Regions from separate parts of the Homo sapiens genome. Here region 2 is linked to region 1. Evidence: promoter capture Hi-C in 16 types of primary human blood cells and fetal thymus (Javierre and others, 2016). All regions are on one chromosome and are shown on one strand. Each heading gives the region's core, a stretch centred on a gene start or on the middle of the fragment in contact. The rest is flanking DNA. Distances are from core to core; before and after follow the strand shown.

Region 1 (5,180 bases), core at 2,545-5,044:
TGATTGATGGGGACAGGAAGAATTCATTTGAGAGACTAGAGATGAGTCAGTATTCTAGATCGTGAAGTAAAATAGTGAGTCATGTAGTGACTTAGCATGGGTTATCCTTAAATCCCAGTGTCTTAAGTGTATTTTTTATTCATACTGCATGTCTAAGGAGGGTTGGCAAGGAGTGCTCATAGACCCACAAGGAATCCAGGCTGAGTGTGGCACCATCAACATATATTTCCATGACCATAGTGGTGGTGGGGAATTGGAACATGGTAAATTACACATAGGAATAAAAAAAAAGAAACAACCAAGGTTAAATTTTTTTTTGACTGTGCCACAAAATTTATGAATTGAACTTGCCATGCATCACTAATAATTTTCAAATTGGTCTTTAGGTTTACATTAGCAGCTAATTTTTTGTGGTACACTTAAATGTAATTTATGATTGGCATCTGTATATAATTAAATGAAAAGCATTGCAAAGATTTCTATTTTGGTATTTCTCATGATCTTCAATTTTTTTTTAGGTGAATCTATTAGGTTTTCTAAAGATAACTATTTTTTTTTTTTTACAAAATATTGGCATTTTAATCTCTCTATAACTGGAGGGTGAATTATTTTTCACCAGAGTAAAACAGGTCCAAAGTCCCTTATCTAAATTCCTAATTTCAAAAATCTCTGAAAACAAAGTTTTTTCATAACTCATTTGGCAACAAACCCCACCTGAATTACATGAGGCTATTTGTGGTATTTATCGCACTTCAATGTGAATATGAATATATTTTGCCACAGATGTATCAATATATTTGATTCTAAACTGCTTCCTCAGACCCTCTTAATGTGTTACATAATGTAAAGTATATGCCCATATTTCCTTTCAAAAATCTGAAAAATTGTGAATATCAAACACATCTGTCTTAAAAGGTTTCAGAAAAGGGACAATAGACCTATATTTCCATTCTCTTAACAAGTTCACAAAGTGGTATTATGATCCAAATTTAATCTAAATAATTTCCAAAACAAAAATTTTCAGGTCCTTAGTTTTCTAAATTATTTTAATATTAAAAATATTCATTATTCATTTTAACCTGTAGTAACAACAGGAGATACTTTGAAATGCTTGATTTTATCAAGCCACTAGGTGGCATCTTTGTAAAAATAAAAGCACATCAAAAGAAATGTTTATTACATAAATAAATGCTGAGATGAATAAAGGTAGATGTTTCATGAGAAATACGAAGTCGTTTGGTGGAATAAATCCTGAGAAAATGCATAGATTTATCATGAAAAGGAAAATGGAAAATGGTATTGTAAAATTACTCTTTCACTTTTGGAATTGAGAAGCTTTTTCCTATTGGTTGTTTTCATTAAGTTTGAATATAAATTTATTATGTAACCAAACTACATTTGTGTGTATGTGCGTGTATGTGTGCGTGGACAGGATTTTGACATGCTAATAACTTTTCCATGCTCCACAGACTACCCAAGGAAGCCTAACTAAGTTAGGTTCCTATTTAAGATTAAATTGTATAAAGTCATCCTCACAGCAAACTACAAAAAAAAATGAATAGTGGCTATCAAGTCACATTTAACACTGTGAGACACTTAAGTTCTCTCCTACCAGTTTTTCTTCCCCCATCTCCTGACTCTATTCCTAAACCTACTGTTTGCATACCGTCTCTAACATTGAGAACAGTGAATGACAAATTTTAAAGAGGAGACCCAGCAAAGTGAATGTTTAAAACCAGTGGAATGTTTATTAGTAGCAGAATGTAAGATAAATTATGATTTTGGAGATGGGAGTGTATGAGTGTTTGTAAAATCTTATCTGCACACCTCCACACCTGGTCTACCCATCCAAGAAAGCCTAATTCTAGTGGTTACCTCTATGCCCATTTTTCCCCTTTACTTTTCATGAATGTGTGGAAATGATTAAAATGAATTTACTTTTACTGATCATTATTAAAACAAAGCCAATTTTATCTGAATATATATTTCACTATTCTAGTAAAAATATATTTTAAAATGGGATGACTGAAAAAAATGGCATTGGATATTACAAAGTTATTGGGGAGATGAGAGTGCAATTTCAGCAGAACAGTATAAAGAAATAAATGAAGACAATGAACATTTATGAATAAGGGAATGGACCTGTATTAATTTTATTAATCCTTTTAACATATCAAATCAAATTAAACAGTACTGTAATGGTTAAAAAATCTGGGACCTGGAGTTAGATTGCTTAGGTTTAATCCTGGTTCCCTCATTAAACTTTGTGTGCCTTAGTTTTCTCATTTACAAAATGGGTCTAATAGCAGTTTCTCCCTAATAAAATCGTTGTAAGGATTAAATTAGAAATCTATGTACGGTGCCTCATGACAATGAATACTTCATAAATGTTAGCTGCTATTATGAGATAGCAACATGTAGTTTGTTACTAAATTTCCAAGAGGAACATACTTGACTTGACCTCCAATACTATCCTGTGGTTCTTTAAAAGTTTTCTTATTCATTGATAGGCCGGGCGCGGTGGCTCACTCCTGTAATCCCCAACACTTTTGAAGGCGGATTGCTTGAGGCTAGGAGTTCCAGATCAGCCTGGCCAACATGGTGAAACCCCATCTCTACTAAAAATACCAAAATTAGCCGGGGGTGGTGGCGGGCGCCTGTAATCTCAGCTACTCAGGAGGCTGAGGCAGGAGAATCGCGGGAGCCAGGGAGGTAGAGGTTGCATTGAGCCGAGATCGAACCACTGCACTTCAACCTGGGCGACAGAGCAAGACTCTGTATACACTAGAAAAAAAAAAAAAAAAAAGAATTTGTTGTTAGACAAAATTTAGTTTATTAACTAATTTAGTGATTAACAAAAGTTCTTCTAAGCAGAATTATTTGATAGCTACTATCTCCCTTTTCTCTTTGGCTGCCAGGAAGCTGAGAGCCAAGTTGTTAGTTTAACAAAAGCAAGTAGGCACCTGACAGTTTCTCGCCTCTGACTTCATCGTGATGATTTCTCTGACTCGGATTTTTTTTATATCTGTAAAATTAAACTGCTGTCAGTGTTTGGTTTAGAGAGCTGTGCCGTTTCACAAGTGTAAAAGATCTTGGAGAGAAGTTAGTGTCCTGATTCACTTGGATCTAGGTAGCCAGTTGGTAACAGCCTCCGCCTCTGGCTCCTCCCCTTCTCCCTGCCGCGTCCCTCCTCCCCGCCCCTTCGCCTCTGGCCCCGCCCCTTCTCCCTGCCGCTTCCCTCCTCCACGCCCGCTCGCCTCTGACTCCTCCCCTTCTCCCTGACGCGTCCCTCTTCCTGTCTCTTCGCCTCTGGCTCCTCCCCTTTCTCCTGCCATGTTTCTTCTCCCCGCCCCCTCGCCTCTGGCTCCTCCCCCTTTTCCCTATCGCGTTCCTCCTTTGCAGCCCCCATCCCCCTCCTCTGGCTCCTCTTCTTCCCTACCGCGATCCTCCTTCCAGACCCCGGCCCCCAGCCCGCCTCTAGCTCCTTCCCTTATTTCCTGCCGCGCTCCTCCTTCCCGACACCGCCCCTCCGCCTCTGGCTACTCCTCTTCTCTCCTGCCGCACTCCTCCTTCCCGGCCCCACCTCCCCGCCTCTGGCTCATCCCCTTCTCTTCTGCCGCCCTCCTCCTTCCCGGCCCCGCCCCCAGTCTTTGGCTCCTCCCCCTACCCTGCCGCGCTCCTCCTTCCCGGCCCCTCCCCGCTGCCCTCTTCTGGCTCCTCCCCCCCACCCGCCTCTGGCTCCTCTCCTTCCCACCCCTGCCGTGCTCCGGCAGGAAGAGGTGGTGCCAGGGCCGTTGCTAGGATACGACCAACAGCTGAGAACGCGGCGAGTATGGAAGCTGCGTCTTAGGAGCCTGGGAAAGCACTTCGACGAGAATAGTTTGGTTTCGTACACAGGTAGGAGAACAGATTTTGACTGCGGCCTCCTGGTCCGACGCTTAGATCCAGCCTAGAGCCGGTGACAGCCGCGCTGGACTCTGGGTTCTGTGTGCTGGGCAGTGATTCCCACCTGAGCGCCTGGGGCTGCCTAGTCGGTCAGGAATGTTCCGACTTTACTTTAAAAACCGTGCGAAGCATCTCATCTTTCTCGGCTCCTTTTTTGGCTTCCCCTCTCTGATTTGGGACTTGAACCAGCAGCATCAAGCTAGGAGGTACACCTCACCTCACACCCTGGGTGCTTGTCACGGTAATTGCATAGAAGATGTGTGTATAACCCACACCTGGCACTAGAGACTCTTAGCCTTCCGTGGCCACCATTCTCATATTAAGTCGAGAGATTTTAGACTTTCCTCACCTGGCACTCTCACTCCTTCCTCTCCACCCTTGGTCTTTGCCTCTTAACAAACCTAAAAATTCAACAGATCTATTTGGTAGAAGGCAATACTGGATCCCTGCCTCACTAATTATACTACATTCTAAATGTGTTAAGCTTTAAATGGTAGGGAATGAAATGTAGGTGAAAAGGGAGACTTTTTTGTATGCAAACATGATAGAGGTTGCTTTTTAAACAATAAGATTTAAACATTTTCATTTGAATAGATAATACATAAAAAAATAGTTCGAATAGTAAAAAGAATGAAGAGTGAAAATCCTCCATCTACCCATTTCTCCCCATCTCCAGGCCACCTTCCACAGGTGTTTTAGACATACGCAAATATGTAGTTACACCTGTAACATTGTGCATACTCTTCTGTGATTGGCTTTTACACTTAAGACTGTGTGTCCAGTTGTTTTCTATCAATATTTACAGATCTGTCTCATTTATGCATTTATGGATGAATTTATGTATTTATGTTTCATTGTGAGAAGGTGTTTCGAAGCATGTCAGGAAATTTGGAAACTCTCATAAGCAAAAAGATTGATAAATGTCACTACCTAACAATCTAAAACTTTTATATAGTAAGAGAAAAACAACATCAAACATACAATGGGAAATATAAGGGCAACACACAACAAAGGGATATTTAATTATTAGGACTCATAAAACAATATGAGGATGTAAGGAAACAGTCAAGGGGAACTTCTTGGGGCTATAATAGAAAACAGTTTGATGGAATTTAACAAAATTAAGATCTGTATGCCCTTTGACTTGTCCATTCTAATTCTGGGAACTCATTTTCAGTATACTTACACATATATACAGAGATAGATGTATAAAATGTTTGTTGCAGCACTATTTT
Region 2 (2,569 bases), core at 1-2,500, about 11 Mb before region 1:
GACAAAGCCAGACTCCATCTCAAAAACATAAACAAAATAGAAAGGAAGCAAATTAAATTACGCTTTTGAAAGAAAGCAATTTATTAGAAGCCAAGAGAAAAGAAGTGATGTGATGAGAAGTGGAAAAGGACAAGAAGACAACAATGGACTAAGAAAGGAAAAGGACCATAATAAGCATAAGAAAGAAGAGGAATTGTGTGGTGGTCAGAAGAGATATTGTAGAAAGGAGGGAATGGCAGTCATGTGAAACGCGAAGCCGCCATCCCAGTCAATATGGGTGGGATGATGGGAACATTCCCCACATCCTAAAATATTCCCACAATGAGCTGGCTGTTCGAACATTATAAGGCTCTTTTCTGGTGTGTGTGCATGTTGCTTGTATAAGGCATATGCCCCCGACAGAAGTAATGTATTCAACTTTTAAGTCACTTAGTCTTTGAAGAAGCACTTTCAAAAGCGGATTTTTTTTTTTTTTTTTTTCCTGGAGGGAGGCTGACGGGACTAGAACTGAGGAAGAGTGTGGAAGTATGTCATAGCCATGGGCAACAGGTGCTGGCAATGTCAGAGATGAACTCTGCCTATTCACAATACTGTCAAAGTATAATTTTGAAAAAGCTAAAGCCATAATTCCCAGACAATTATCTAGACACTCTTACAAAGTGACGCTGTGTTAACTCGACTCATAAGAAATCAAATGTGTTAATGAAAAAAGAAAGGAACTATTTAGAGCTATTTCAGGCAGGGGGTGAGAAAACGGGGTAAAAGACAGGGGAAGAAAAGAGGGGGAAGAGGCGTTCCTGGAGGCGAGAGAGCCTGAGAAGGTGTGGGAAGCTTCGGGCTGGTGGGGGTGCATCGGGGAGCTGCCGCTGAAGTAACAGGGCTGGACGAGGGAGCCAGGGAGTACGGGGTGGGGGGGAAGACACACCTCCAAATTCAGCATTTCGGACTCTGAGGACTCCTCGGATCCCGCCTCGCCCTCGCCCTGGTCCTCATCTCCGTCCGAGTCCAGCTCCTGATAGCGGTGCATGAGCTGCTGGAGCAGGTAGGAGGAGGCTATGTTAGAGCTGCCTTTCGTCTTCTGCCCCATGGGAAAAGACCAGCAAGGCTGACGCTCTTTTTCTGCGCGAAACTGTAACGATCGGGCTCCAGTTCGGGATCTGCCCAAGCCTCTCAGGAGAGAGGCAGCTCTGGTCCTCAGGAGAGCCCTCTCGGAGGTCGCCATCTTGTTTAGCGGGGTTGCCTAGGAGACTGACCCCAGGCAAGGGGAACCGCGGAGGATTCTGGGGCCTGTAGTCTCCTCCGCGCGTACTCGCCTTCTGCAGGCGGGGCAGTGGGCGCTCCACTTGACTTTTCTTTTTCTCAGTCTCTTCTGTTATTTTTCTCTCTTTGGTCTGTTCTGTTCGCTTATCTTTCCTGTTTTCACCTCTTTTCGCTACACCCCCTTTCTTTGTCTCCAGCTGTTTCCTCCCTACCCTGAGACCCCTCTTAGAGCTTTGTCATCCCACGATAGGATCGCAGGTGCGCCACCGTTGCCGCTTCATTCCCAAAGGGCTCTTTCCGCAGAGTCGTACTTTAGAAGTGTCTAATGTCTCTAAAGCAGTCTGTAGGAAAGCTAGTACCACTGAAATTTATGCAAAGCGCGACGCTAGGAGATGAGGGTGCATATAAGTGAAATAGAAGGCATGGTTCCTGTCCTTATGATTTAATTGCAGATAATAAAGAGAAACTACCAGACGACGCCTGAGAGCTGATTTCCAATTAATTTACATTCCCCACCCCCACCCCCCAATGATAAGCCTTGTCCTTGGGGAGAAAAACTGGCAGTGGTCTTACAATCCAAACAGAGAGAGAAAAAACTGCTGTCAAATTGACACTGTATCTGAAAGCGTCTGAAAAGCTATTAGCATCCCATAAATAATTATATTAGTCAAGTGACCTGCATTGGCAATTATTTTAATCTTGTTGCACAGGCTCTCTTTGCAGTTAAAAAAAATACTCTTTCAAGATAACAAAGCACGATTTTATGCTAGTGTGATTTTATGTGACCCAAATCCCATAGCCTTAAGCTCCACAACGTCGACACTCTATAGAAAAGCAGAATGAAAATTATAGTAACTATTATTGCCATAGTGATGACAATAGAGATCCTTGCAGGGAAGTAGCCCTCATCCTTCTGGCCTTACAGGGCCTTTTCTGCACGCTTCAATGACAGCAGTTGCAAATACAAAATGATCCTGTCAATGGCTGTCAGGGGAGAAGGAGAAAAAATCCTTATGGACACCATCCATTGACGATTATCTTTCTCAGTGCTTGAGGGACCGTTAAAACTGACATAAAGCTTTCAGAATTACCTTCCTTCATTATCTTGCTAGTCATAAATGTAAAGGCCACAAGCAAAATATCTCTTTCTGCCAGGCTCATCTTGCTTTTTGCTTATTTCTTTTTCCAATAAGTAGAGATTCCTCCAAGGGAATTTTCCCCACCCTTACCCTCGTAGGGCCTGGCTTCGGCTAAGTGACATAGGGAAGAATCAGGCAGAAAGTGTAAAAATGCAAATCTCGATCGTTTT

Evidence for each region. The method cuts DNA at HindIII sites, captures the fragments that hold promoters and counts their contacts. A CHiCAGO score of 5 or more calls a contact.
Region 2: a contact is called between the fragment with the promoter of LRGUK here and the fragment with the promoter of IQUB in region 1, in 2 of 17 cell types (non-activated CD4 T cells and activated CD4 T cells). The highest score is 6.1, in non-activated CD4 T cells.

What each region holds. Positions count from the first base shown.
Region 1 is chr7:123,533,209-123,538,388 of GRCh38, reverse strand. IQUB (IQ motif and ubiquitin domain containing) reads left to right here and starts at 3,794. Exons shown (of 13, transcript NM_178827.5): 1 at 3,794-3,897. LOC124901740 (a long non-coding RNA gene) reads right to left here and starts at 3,858. Exons shown (of 2, transcript XR_007060507.1): 1 at 2,964-3,858; 2 at 2,130-2,784. NDUFA5 (NADH:ubiquinone oxidoreductase subunit A5) reads left to right here. Exons shown (of 5, transcript NM_005000.5): 5 at 1-1,392. RefSeq lists an enhancer at 2,908-3,047 and silencers at 3,118-3,247, 3,328-3,477, 3,498-3,727. The HindIII fragment of the contact is 3,094 bases long and covers 1,338-4,431 here.
Region 2 is chr7:134,126,021-134,128,589 of GRCh38, reverse strand. LRGUK (leucine rich repeats and guanylate kinase domain containing) reads right to left here and starts at 1,250. Exons shown (of 20, transcript NM_144648.3): 1 at 926-1,250. The coding sequence starts at 1,222. RefSeq lists enhancers at 968-1,237, 1,348-1,397. The HindIII fragment of the contact is 1,507 bases long and covers 834-2,340 here.